Regions from separate parts of the Homo sapiens genome. Here regions 1 and 2 are each linked to region 3. The links are contacts of gene promoters, found by promoter capture Hi-C in human tissues and cell types (Jung and others, 2019). All regions are on one chromosome and are shown on one strand. Each heading gives the region's core, a stretch centred on a gene start or on the middle of the fragment in contact. The rest is flanking DNA. Distances are from core to core; before and after follow the strand shown.

Region 1 (3,690 bases), core at 264-2,763, 180 kb before region 3:
TTCTTTTGTAGGTCTTGTGAGTGCCCAGAGCCCTGTGGCAAGAAGCCTCTGCCAGGGAAAGGGATGCGGGGAAGTGGAGGCAGTGATGGGGAAGCAGAGCCAGGAGAGACCCTTGGGCTTCCTTCCTTCAAGGCCTCTGGTCTCTAGCAGAGAGAAGAGAGGGAGCAGGTGAGAGCCCCACTTAGCTCTAGGCAATATTTTTTTTTCAGACAGGATCCCACTCTGTCACCCAGGCTGGAGTGCAGTGGCACAATCATGACTCACTGCAGCCTCAACCTCCCAAGCTCAAGCAACGCTCCCATCTCAGCCTCCCAAGCTCAAGCACCGCTCCCATCTCAGCCTCCCAAGTTGCTTGGACTACAGGTGCACGCTATCACGCCCAGCTAATTTTTGTATTTTTTGTAGAGATGGGTTTTTGCCATGTTGTTCAGGCTGCTCTTGAACTCCTGAGTTAAGTGATCTGCCTTGCCTACCTTGGCCTCCCAAAGTGCTGGGATTACAGGCATGAGCCACTGCGTGCAGCCGAGCCAAACCTCATTCTAGATTCCATCTCCAGGAATAATGATGTGGGACCCACCACACAGCCCCCATAGTCTGGCAAGTGAGACAGACATTGAACCCACTCTAAAGAAGGGTCTCATTATCCCAAGAAAAAGACCACTTTGACCACAAGTCAAAGCTCTGGGAACCAACATTTCTTAGTAATTGGGAAAAAAATGTTTAATTGGAATTTTGTTTTGAAAAATGAAATTTAAACTATGAAAATATACACATTTTATCTTCCACAAACAACATTTAGGTTAATATGCTAATTCTTAGATTAATGTGCTAATACTTAGTGTTATGGTTTGACTGTCCCCTCCAAAACTTATGATGAAATTTATTTATTTATTTTATTTTTTTTTTTTTTAGATGGAGTTTTGTTCTTGTCACCCAGGCTGGAGTGCAATGGCATGATCTCGGCTAAGTGCAACTCCTGCCTCCTGGGTTCAAGCAATTCTCCTGCCTTAGCCTTTTGAGTAGCTGGGATTACAAGTGGCCACCCCTATACCCAGCTAATTTTTATATTTTTAGTAGAGACAAGGTTTCACCATTTTGGCCACGATGGTCTTGAACTCCTGACCTCAAGTGATCTGCCTTCTTTGGCCTCCCAAAGTGCTGGGATTACAGTGGTGAGCCATCATGCCCGGCTGATTTATGATGAAATTTAATTGCCATTGTGAAGGTATTAAGAGGTGGGACTATTAAGAAGTGATTAGGTCATAAGGGCAAAACCCTCATGAATGGATTAATCTCTTTATTGAAGGAGTGAGCTCATGATCAAGACACTGGATTTATTGTAAAAATGAGTTCAGCTCTCTCTTGCTCACTGTCTAGTGCTCTCTTGCCCTTCTGCCTTCCACCATGGGATGATACAGCATGAAGACCCCCACCAGATGCTGGTGCCATACTCTTGGACTTCCCAGTCTTCAGAAGCATGAGCCAAATAAATTTCTATTGTTTACAAATTACCCAGAGTGGTATTCTGTTTTAGCATCAGAAAATGGAGTAAGACAATTAGAGTACAAAAAGTTCATTGGAGTAGGCATAGTTCTTCCCACAAAATTGCCTGATGGTCCTTACTAGAACCTTCTGGGTCCTAACAACCAGAATGCTTCATCACATCCCCCTGAGTTCTTTGGGCCACTCTGAGTTCTATGACATTCAAATCATTTTCTTCCAAAGCACAGGTTCATCTTTCTTCACGTTGGGGGTTTTCATTATTTAGACAGGGCTGACCCAGCCAGATAGATAGATCCTTGGTTTGTCAGCCACTGTGTGCAGAACCCAGGAGCTCTCCAACGTAACTCTCATCAACTTCAAGAAATTCTACAACTTTGAAGTTTTCCTTTGCTACCAGCTTGCATAAGCAGACCTGACAGACAGAAGAGATGCAGATGGGGGGTGGACAGATGCTGGTGCTAGGTAGGGTGAGATGCTTGACTGGGAACGAAGTAAGTGGCCAGGACAGTACTAAATATATTCATGTTTTAACAACTCTTAACTTCCAACTCAGATAATGAATGCTCAGCTATGGGGCACCCTAATCATACAATTAACTGTATCAGCCCAAGATCTCTTGCATCTGGAGTTAGCGAGGGATAAAATTCCATCTTGTTTAAGCCGGTGTTATTGTGGATCTCTGTTATAAAGCCTCTGTCCTACCTAATACATCTAGTCTTTTGGTGGTAATTACAATCAATTTTCCTGTGGGCACCATTCTTTCCCACTTATGGCCCATGTGGTTCAGGCTGGGCGGTCCCTACCTCTAGGATGCAGAGATTGTCACGTGACTCAGGTTTGACCAAACTGCCCCATTTGCCTGGCCACAGGGATTGGTTCAGGAATGGTTCGAATGACCTAAGCCCTCCAGGAGTTTTGCTGGAAGCACTGAGCTTTGCTGGAGCCTCCAGGGGTAGTTGTTGAGACTGTGGGTCTGAAAACAGAGCCAATGGGGAAGAATGAGGAGTTGAGAGACATGGAGACACCTTCTGGGCACCTGGATTCAGCTGCGCCTGAAGCTCAGCAACCCCAGGACTTTAAGTCACTTGAGCCAATACATTCACCTTTTATCATAAACCAGTTTGAGCTGGTTTTCTGTCACTTGCCTGAAAAAGAACTGAGACTTTACACAGAGAAGAAAAATTTGGAATGGGGAGAAAAGGAGAATGAGCACTGTCTTCAAAGATCTAAAGGGCCGCCTGGGCTTTGTGTGATCACACACAGACTGTGTGGTTCCAGTGGGCAGAGGGACTGGACCAGGCTTCTGGCTCTTTATGAGGAACTTTCCCACAATTAGAGCTGTTCAAAGAGGGCCCCAGGCAATTTCAAGAGAGAGAGAGGAAGCTTCCCGTTTCTGGGGGTATGCAAACAGAGCCAGGATGTGGTGAAAGAAACTCAGGCTGACTAGGAGGACAGAGATCCTGTAATTTGTGAATGTGACTTAGTACCTCCAACCAGCTTTCATGTAGAGCCGGAGAATATCAGTCACACCCAATCTTTAATTATAAAATATTTAAGATATTCAAGAAGGTATGGAAGATAATTCACTGATCACTCCTGCATTCACCACTGTCAGCTCAAGAAATAAAACCACCAGGACAGCCGAGCTGCTGACCACAGACCCCTCCACCCTCCTGATCCCCCGCTGGTCATTAAGCTTTGACTACCCATGCACAGTCCTAAGGGATATGTACTTCAGAGGTCTTTTTTAAATAGAGGGGTTAGAATTGCCATGCTTTCAGGCCCTACAGATTTTTTGTTATTAAATAAAAGTGCTTAGCTACTAATAAAACATGTGTTTTCTTTCTTTTTTAATAATAGAAAAGTATGACAAGAGCAGTCCCTGAACAGTTTTTCATCTTGTTTATATGAAAGCCATTTCCTCACCTCCCCTCCCCACCCCCGCCACCCAGCCTCCCACACCTCGCTGTTCCCAGCTCTGGATTCCATCTCTGGGCTCTATTCCCTGCTGATAATCACAATTCCAGGATTGAGACTGAGATAAGGCGTATCAAGCACTTTGCACATTCCCTGGCATATAGTAAGCACTAATTTTAGCACTAGTTGTCATTATCACTGTCATTGCCATCTCGGGAATTGCTCCACCCCCATCCCTTCCCCTTGGCAGGAAGTTGCCAACCCTCCACT
Region 2 (4,053 bases), core at 1,026-3,525, 160 kb after region 3:
ACAGAGCGAGACTCCATCTCAAAAAAAAAAAAAAAAAAAAGAATGAATAAGACCTAGTATTTGCTAGCACAACAGGGTGACTATAATCAAAAATAATTTAATTGTTCATGGCCAGGCGTGGTGGCTCATGCCTGTAATCCCAGCACCTTGGGAGGCCAAGGCAGGTGGATTACTTGAGGTCAGGAGTTAGAGACCAGCTGGCCAACATGGCAAAACCCCGTCTCTACTAAAAATACAAAAATTAGCCGGACATGGTGGCACGTGCCTGTAGTTCCAGCTACTTGGGAGGCTGAGGCAAGAGAACTGCTTGAACCCAGGAGGCAGAGGTTGTAGTGAGCAGAGATCGCGCCACTGCACTCCAGCCTGAGTGACAGAGCAAGACTCCATCTCAAAAAAAAAAATTGTTCATTTTAAAACAACTAAGAATATAATTGGATTGTCTATAACACAAAGGATTGAATGTTTAAGGTGATAATGGATACCCCATCTGCCCTGATGTGTTTGTTACACATTGCATGCCTGTATCAAAACATCTAATGTACCTCATAAATACACACCTACTATGTACCCACAAAAATTAAAAATTAAAATTAAAAAACCACTTGTATTCCAAAAATTAGCTGGGCATGGTGGCGGGCGCCTATAGTCCCAGCTACTTGGGAGGTGGAGGCAGGAGAATGGCATGAACCCAGGAGGCGGAGCTTGCAGTGAGCCGAGATCATACCACTGCATTCCAGCCTGGGCAACAGAGCAAGACTCCATCTCAAAAAAAAAAATCACTTGTATTCTATATATTTGGAAATTTCAATTAAACAAAGTTTATAATAGCATTAAAAACGAAATAAGCTGAACTGTACACTTGATAAATTTTATCATGTGTATTTACCATTATAAAATATTTAAAAATATATTTATAAAGATAGTCTCTATGCCAAAAAAAAAAACATGAAATAGAGACAAATTTAACACAATATGTGCAAGAGTGGTACACTGAAAGCTACAAAACATTGCTGAGAGAAGGTAGAGGTGGCCTACATAAATGAGGATGTGTATGTGCTTGTGGATCAGAAGACCCAATATTGTTAAGCTTTATAGCTACAATGCACTTGCAATCAAATTCTCACCAGGTTCTTTGTAGAAACTGACCAGCTTGTTCTAAACATTCTATAGAAATATAAAGGACCCAGAATAGCCAAAACAATTTTTAAAATGAAGAATAATTTTGGAAAACTCACACTGCTTTCAAAAGTTACTATAAAACTACAGTGGCCAGGCACAGTGGCTCACGCCTGTAATCCCAGCACTTTGGGAGGCCAAAGTGGGCGGATCACAAGGTCAGGAGATCAAGACCATCCTGGCCAACATGGTGAAACCCCGTCTCAACTAAAAATACAAAAATTAGCTGGGTGTGGTGGCGCGTGCCTGTAATCCCAGCTACTCGGGAGGCTGAGGCACGAGAATCACTTGAACCCAGTAGGAGGTTGCAGTGAGCCGAGATCACACCACTGCACTCCAGCCTGGCGACAGAGCAAGACTCCATCTCAAAAAAAAAAAAAAAAAAACTACAGTAACTGAGACAGTGTGGTATTTACATTAGGTGGGACACTTAGATCAGAGAAGCAGGATACATTCCAGAAATGGACCCCAGGCTACCATGACACTTCAGTGAGAAAGGGTGGCCTTTCCAACAGAGGCACAACTGGATCCACATGCAAAAAAAAAAAAAACCTCTCCATTTTTACCTCCTACAATATATGATAATTAACTCAAAACGAGCCAGGCATGGTGGCTCACGCTTGTAATCCCAATACTTTGGGAGGCCAAGACAGGTGGATCACTTGACGTCAGGAGTTTGACACCAGCCTGGCCAACATGGTGAAACCCCATCTCTACTAAAATACAAAAACATACCAGGCACGGTGTCTCACACCTGTAATCCCAGCACTTTGGGAGGCCGAGGCGGGCGGATCATGAGGTCAGGAGATTGAGACCATCCTGGCTAACACGATGAAACCCCGTCTCTACTAAAAATACAAAAAATTAGCCAGGTGTGGTGGTGGGTGCCTGTAGTCCCAGCTACTCGGGAGGCTGAGGCAGGAGAATGGCATGAACCCGGGAGGTGGAGTTTGCAATGAGCCGAGATTGTGCCACTGCACTCCAGACTGGGTGACAGAGTGAGACTCCATCTCAAAAAAAAAAAAAAAAATACAAAAACATTAGCTGGGCATGGTGGTAGGTGCCTGTAATCCCAGCTACTAGGGAGGATGAGGCAGGTAGAATCGCTTGAACCTGGGAGGCGGAGGTTGCAGTGAGCCGAGATCACGCTGTTGTACTACAGCCAGGGAGACAAAGCAAAACTCCGTCTCAAAAAAACAAATGGATCATAACCTAAATAAAAAATCTAAAAGTATAAAACTTCTGCTCTTCTAAAGACTCTGTTGAGAAAACTCACCTGTAACCTCAGCACTTTGGGAGGCCAAGGCAGGAGGATTGCTTGAGTCCAGGGGTTCAAGACCAGCTTGGGCAACATAGCAAGACCCCATCTCTACAAAAAAAAAGTGTTTTAAAAATTAGCTTGGCATGGCGGCACACACCTATAGTCCCAACTACTCAGGAGGCTAAGGTGGGAGGATCACTTCAGCCCAGGGGGTCACAGCTGCAGTGAGGCGGGATCATGCCACTGTACTTCAGCTGGAGTGACAGCAAAACTCTGTCTCTCAAAAAAGAAAAAAAAGAAAAAGAAAATTAAAATACAAATCACAGACTGGGATAAAATATTTGTAAAACACATTATCTGATAAAGAACTTGTTTCTAGCATATCTAAAGAACTCTCACAACTCACAAACAACTCAATGAGAAACGAGGCAAAAGACTTGAACATTTCGTTACAGAAAATATACAAAGGGTTACTTGCTTAAAAACATGTCCAATGTCATTAATCAAGGAAATGCAAATCAAAACAACAATGAGACACCACTCCCTGCCTATGAGAACAGCCAAAATCCAGAGCCCTGACAATACCAAATGCTGACAAGGATAGGGAGCAAGAGGGACTCTCATTCACTGTGGATTTTTTTTAAGAGACTTTATTTTTTAGAGCAGGTTTAGGTTTACAGCAAAATTGAGCAGAGGTACAGAGTTCCCATATACCCTCCACTCCCACACAACGCACAGCCTCCCCGATTACCAATACCACAGAACGCAGGATACCGGGAGTGAACCCTGATGTAAACTATGGGCTCTGAGTGACCATGGTGCACTGACGTAGGTTCAACAGCTATAATAATGTGCACACTGGTGGGGGCATTGTGCCTTTAGCTCAGATTTGCCTGACAAGGGTCTGTTAGGTTTATCAGCAGCTGTTTGGAAGGAGAAGGGCTGCTCATCACCTGATTACCATTTTGGTTCCTGAAAGCTCTGGGGAGAAAATAGTTCAGCCCAGATGAATGTAAAGGTATCCAAGCATAAAGCGGTGCTGTCGTTCTAAACCAGAATCAGGAAAAATGCCTGCCATGGAACCTAAAACTACATGTAGCTAAAGAATTGCTGGCAGGACTCCCAGGGGAGGCGCTCTCTCCAAGACCTAGGAGTGCAGGCAGGAAGTCCATGAACCACCTCGAGAGCAAAGAGTTCAGTGATTACCAAGAAGACACAGAAGTAAAGGGGGATGCTGGCAGAGGACAGTGCTGGAAAAGATCAGAGGGGCAGATGGCTGGCAGCTCTCGACCCCACCTCCCTGCCCTTCCTGCTCCGCGTGGCTCACAGGCCCATGACCAAATGGACACATCAGAAATAAGAGATCTATGAGCTAGACACAGTCCCTAGCAGGCAAAATGTTGGAAGGGACAGAGTCCTGCTCCACTCAGATGAGCAGATCCCAAGACAGGTCTTAAATCAAGGAGGGTGGGGTATGCAGGTGTGGAGTTGGGTGAATGACACTGCTAGAAAAATAATACCATAGGCCGGATGCGGTGGCTCACACCTGTAATCCTAGCACTTTGGGAGGCCGAGGCGGGTGGATCATGAGGTCGGGAAATCAAGACCATCCTGGC
Region 3 (3,835 bases), core at 450-2,949:
TCTCCCCTTCTCCCAGACTCTGGCAGACATACCTCAGATGGGGGCAGGAACCAAGAATGGCGGGGCTCCAGCCCCAGCTAGCCTGTCGGATAACTGCTGCATAAGTGACACCAGGAATCAGAGCCAGGCCAGGGCCACTGATGAGCCCTTGGATGCTCACTGTGTGATGCGTGCATTTGAAATATCTGACAGTAAGAGTGAGGCCTGGGAGAGATGCAGGGACTCTGAGGATGGGGGCCAAGCTGGGCTGAGAAACAAGTTAGTGGTGTCCTGCAGCAGCCCCTACAGCAAGTGCCAGCGTGGGAGGGAGGTGGGTAGGCATGGGGTGGGTGGTATGGCACTCACAGCACTGCCTGCAGACCACCACCTGACAGCTGGGCCGGTGGTGCCAGCTAATGGCTCCCTAGTTTTCTCGTAAGTCAGACGTGGCCAAAGCAAAACACTGAGCACACAGGTTGCCTTGAGGAGCAGTGACTGCCTCAAGAGCTCAGGGCTGAGGAGCTGGCTCCAGACAGCCTGTTGCCAATGTTCAGCAACATCACCCCACTCCTGGTTACTGATCGACCTGGTGTGCTCTTGAGAGTACCCCCACCAGGCCTCATGGGTCAATACTACTGTTATTGTTGCTATTGTTATTACCAGGCCCCGCCCTCCTAAAGCATTTGCATATTTTCATCCTTAATCACAGAACCAGAATCAGTATCTTCCAGAAGAGAAAACTGAGGCCCAGGAGAAAGCAAGAGGCTGTGCTGTGCTCCCAGGGCCTTCCTGGCTCGCTGTGGCTTTGAGCTCCAGGTCTCTCAGCTAGACAATGAGAACGTCGGCCCACGCGCGGCACAGTAAAAGCCCAAAATGCTATGATGGACGGGGTGGGCCGCTGGCTGCAGAGCCCTCCATACCACAGAGCATCTCTGGCTGGGAGAAAGGAGCAGGCTGAGGCCTGCAGCAGAGCGCGGGGTTGGGGACCGCTCCTGTTGGGCCCCAGCAAGGCGCCCTGAGACCCCTGCTCCATCCCTGCCGCTCCCCACCCGCCTGCTCCTAGCCTCTGTTCTAGCTCTGCCCGCGGCGGCCACAGCCTCCCCGAGCCGCCGGCCGGGCCCTCTGCTGCCCTCTGGCGGCCCGAGCGCGCGGTGCCGAGCTCCGCGCCTGAGGCCCTGAAACCCCGCGTCCGCCCGGCGGTCGCCTCCCGGGAACAAGAGCCCGGCTGGGGACCGGAGCGGAAGGGGGCTGGGGCTGGGGCTGTGCTCTGAGGACTGCAATATACGGTCCGCGCAAGCACTCAGCAAACGCTGCTGCGCTTACTGGGTTACTTACTAGATTCCTATTCTCTGGGGAAACTGAGAACCAAAGAAAATAAGTGTACGCGCGCGGGAGGTGCAGGAATGGGGGTCCTTGCCCGAAGTCGCAGAGGGACAGGGGCACCGCCGGGACCAGAACCCCGACGCCCCTGCGGCCGCCGAGCCCGCGGCAGTGGAAAAGCGGAGTCCGAGCGCCTCCAGCCTCAGCCCGACCCTGGACTGCTCCCCCCAGCCCCCGCGCCCAGAGAGCAGGAGCCCGGCAGCGGGTGACGAGGTCGCCGGGACTGGGAGCCGGTGCGGGGGAGGCGGGCCCCGCGGGGCGTGACGCACCGAGCTGGGAGGGCCGGGGCGGGGCAGCCGAGCAGGCTGCATATAAGGGCGGCGGCCGGGCGCCAAAGCCAGAGCAAGCGGCCTGTGCCCAGATCCTGGGAGAACCCCAGCCGAGCCCAGCCTAGCCCGAGCCCAGCCCGAGCGGAGCCGGAGCCCCAAGCCCGAGCCGCGCCCAGCCCGAGCAGAGCCCTCCAGCCGCTCACCCCGCGTGCCACCCCAGCGACCCTCAGCCGCTCTCTGCCCTTCTCTCGGCCCCGCGCCCGCCCTCGCGGCCCCTCTGCCCAATGAAACTGGCCGCGATGATCAAGAAGATGTGCCCGAGCGACTCGGAGCTGAGTATCCCGGCCAAGAACTGCTATCGCATGGTCATCCTCGGCTCGTCCAAGGTGGGCAAGACGGCCATCGTGTCGCGCTTCCTCACCGGCCGCTTCGAGGACGCCTACACGCCTACCATCGAGGACTTCCACCGCAAGTTCTACTCCATCCGCGGCGAGGTCTACCAGCTCGACATCCTCGACACGTCCGGCAACCACCCGTTCCCCGCCATGCGGCGCCTCTCCATCCTCACAGGTGAGCCGGGGGCCGGGCAGGTGCGGGAGGGAAGGGCGGGGAACCCTCGGCCAGGGCGCCCCGCGAGCGCCGGTCCGGCTGCCGCGCGCCGAGTAGTGCGCTTCGCGCTTAGAGAGGCTAGCGCGCCCCGCGCGGCCTCAAAGTCAGCCCGACTTGTCCCCTGGGCGGCCACCCTCACCTTCTCCTTTTCTGCTCTCTGTGCCCCCTCTAGGAGACGTTTTCATCCTGGTGTTCAGTCTGGACAACCGCGACTCCTTCGAGGAGGTGCAGCGGCTCAGGCAGCAGATCCTCGACACCAAGTCTTGCCTCAAGAACAAAACCAAGGAGAACGTGGACGTGCCCCTGGTCATCTGCGGCAACAAGGGTGACCGCGACTTCTACCGCGAGGTGGACCAGCGCGAGATCGAGCAGCTGGTGGGCGACGACCCCCAGCGCTGCGCCTACTTCGAGATCTCGGCCAAGAAGAACAGCAGCCTGGACCAGATGTTCCGCGCGCTCTTCGCCATGGCCAAGCTGCCCAGCGAGATGAGCCCAGACCTGCACCGCAAGGTCTCGGTGCAGTACTGCGACGTGCTGCACAAGAAGGCGCTGCGGAACAAGAAGCTGCTGCGGGCCGGCAGCGGCGGCGGCGGCGGCGACCCGGGCGACGCCTTTGGCATCGTGGCACCCTTCGCGCGCCGGCCCAGCGTACACAGCGACCTCATGTACATCCGCGAGAAGGCCAGCGCCGGCAGCCAGGCCAAGGACAAGGAGCGCTGCGTCATCAGCTAGGAGCCCCGCCGCGCTGGCGACACAACCTAAGGAGGACCTTTTTGTTAAGTCAAATCCAACGGCCCGGTGCGCCCCAGGCCGGGAGCGCGCGCGGACTGGCGTCTCCCCTCCCGGCGATCCGCCCCCAGCACTGGGGAGGCGCCACTGAACCGAGAAGGGACGGTCATCTGCTCCGGAAGGAAAGAGAACGGGCCAAGACTGGGACTATTCCCCACCCCCGGTCCCCCATTGAGGCCCGCCACCCCCATAACTTTGGGAGCGAGGGCCCAGCCGAGGGTGGATTTATCTTCTCAAAGACCTAAGAGTGAGCGCGGGGTGGGGGAGGGATGTGAAGTTATCCAGCCTCTGCTAGGCTTCAAGAAACCGTCATGCCCGCTTGAGGGTCAGGACCCACGGGGCATTATCTTGTCTGTGATTCCGGGTTGCTGTGACAGCCGGTAGAGCCTCTGCCCTCCCAAAACTAAGCGGGGGGGCGTGGGTCAAATCATAGCCAAGTGACTTGTTTACATGTGAGTGAAACTGCACAAAGGAACACAAAACAAAACTTGCACTTTAACGGTAGTTCCGGTGTCAACATGGACACGAACAAAACCTTACCCAGGTGTTTATACTGTGTGTGTCTGAGGTCTTTAAAGTTATTGCTTTATTTGGTTTTTTAATATACAATAAAATAATTTAAAATGGAAAACCGGTTTTTTTTTTTTTTTTTTTGCTTTTAGAGATGGCTGGAGTGGGGAAGGGTGGGGAGAAGGAAAGGGCTGGGCTTTGACTTAGGTGGAACTAGAACTTACCTTCCCCAGAACTGGAAAATAACCCTGGCCTTCTGAAGGCAGCTTCAGCTGCCAGAAAAGCCCCAGATGCCTGGG

Evidence for each region. Contacts are between HindIII fragments. The study calls those that stand out against the background at their distance.
Region 1: a contact is called between a fragment that was not itself captured here and the fragment with the promoter of RASD1 in region 3, in 1 of the 25 tissues and cell types used here (dorsolateral prefrontal cortex).
Region 2: a fragment that was not itself captured here is called in contact with the fragment with the promoter of RASD1 in region 3 in 1 of the 25 tissues and cell types used here (spleen).

Annotation. Positions count from the first base shown.
Region 1 is chr17:17,671,844-17,675,533 of GRCh38, reverse strand. SMCR2 (Smith-Magenis syndrome chromosome region, candidate 2) reads left to right here. Exons shown (of 4, transcript NR_131243.2): 3 at 12-168; 4 at 1,378-1,508. Among named protein-coding and RNA genes, the nearest start is that of SMCR2, 4.0 kb to the left of the region's middle. RefSeq lists an enhancer at 1-130. The HindIII fragment of the contact is 4,455 bases long and covers 1-3,690 here.
Region 2 is chr17:17,331,988-17,336,040 of GRCh38, reverse strand. The region is part of intron 3 of NT5M (5',3'-nucleotidase, mitochondrial); the gene reads right to left. Among named protein-coding and RNA genes, the nearest start is that of NT5M, 31 kb to the right of the region's middle. The HindIII fragment of the contact is 5,316 bases long and covers 1-4,053 here.
Region 3 is chr17:17,494,259-17,498,093 of GRCh38, reverse strand. RASD1 (ras related dexamethasone induced 1) reads left to right here and starts at 1,699. Exons shown (of 2, transcript NM_016084.5): 1 at 1,699-2,198; 2 at 2,410-3,657. The coding sequence starts at 1,913. The coding sequence ends at 2,969. RefSeq lists silencers at 979-1,208, 1,259-1,388, 1,549-1,768. The HindIII fragment of the contact is 34,145 bases long and covers 1-3,835 here.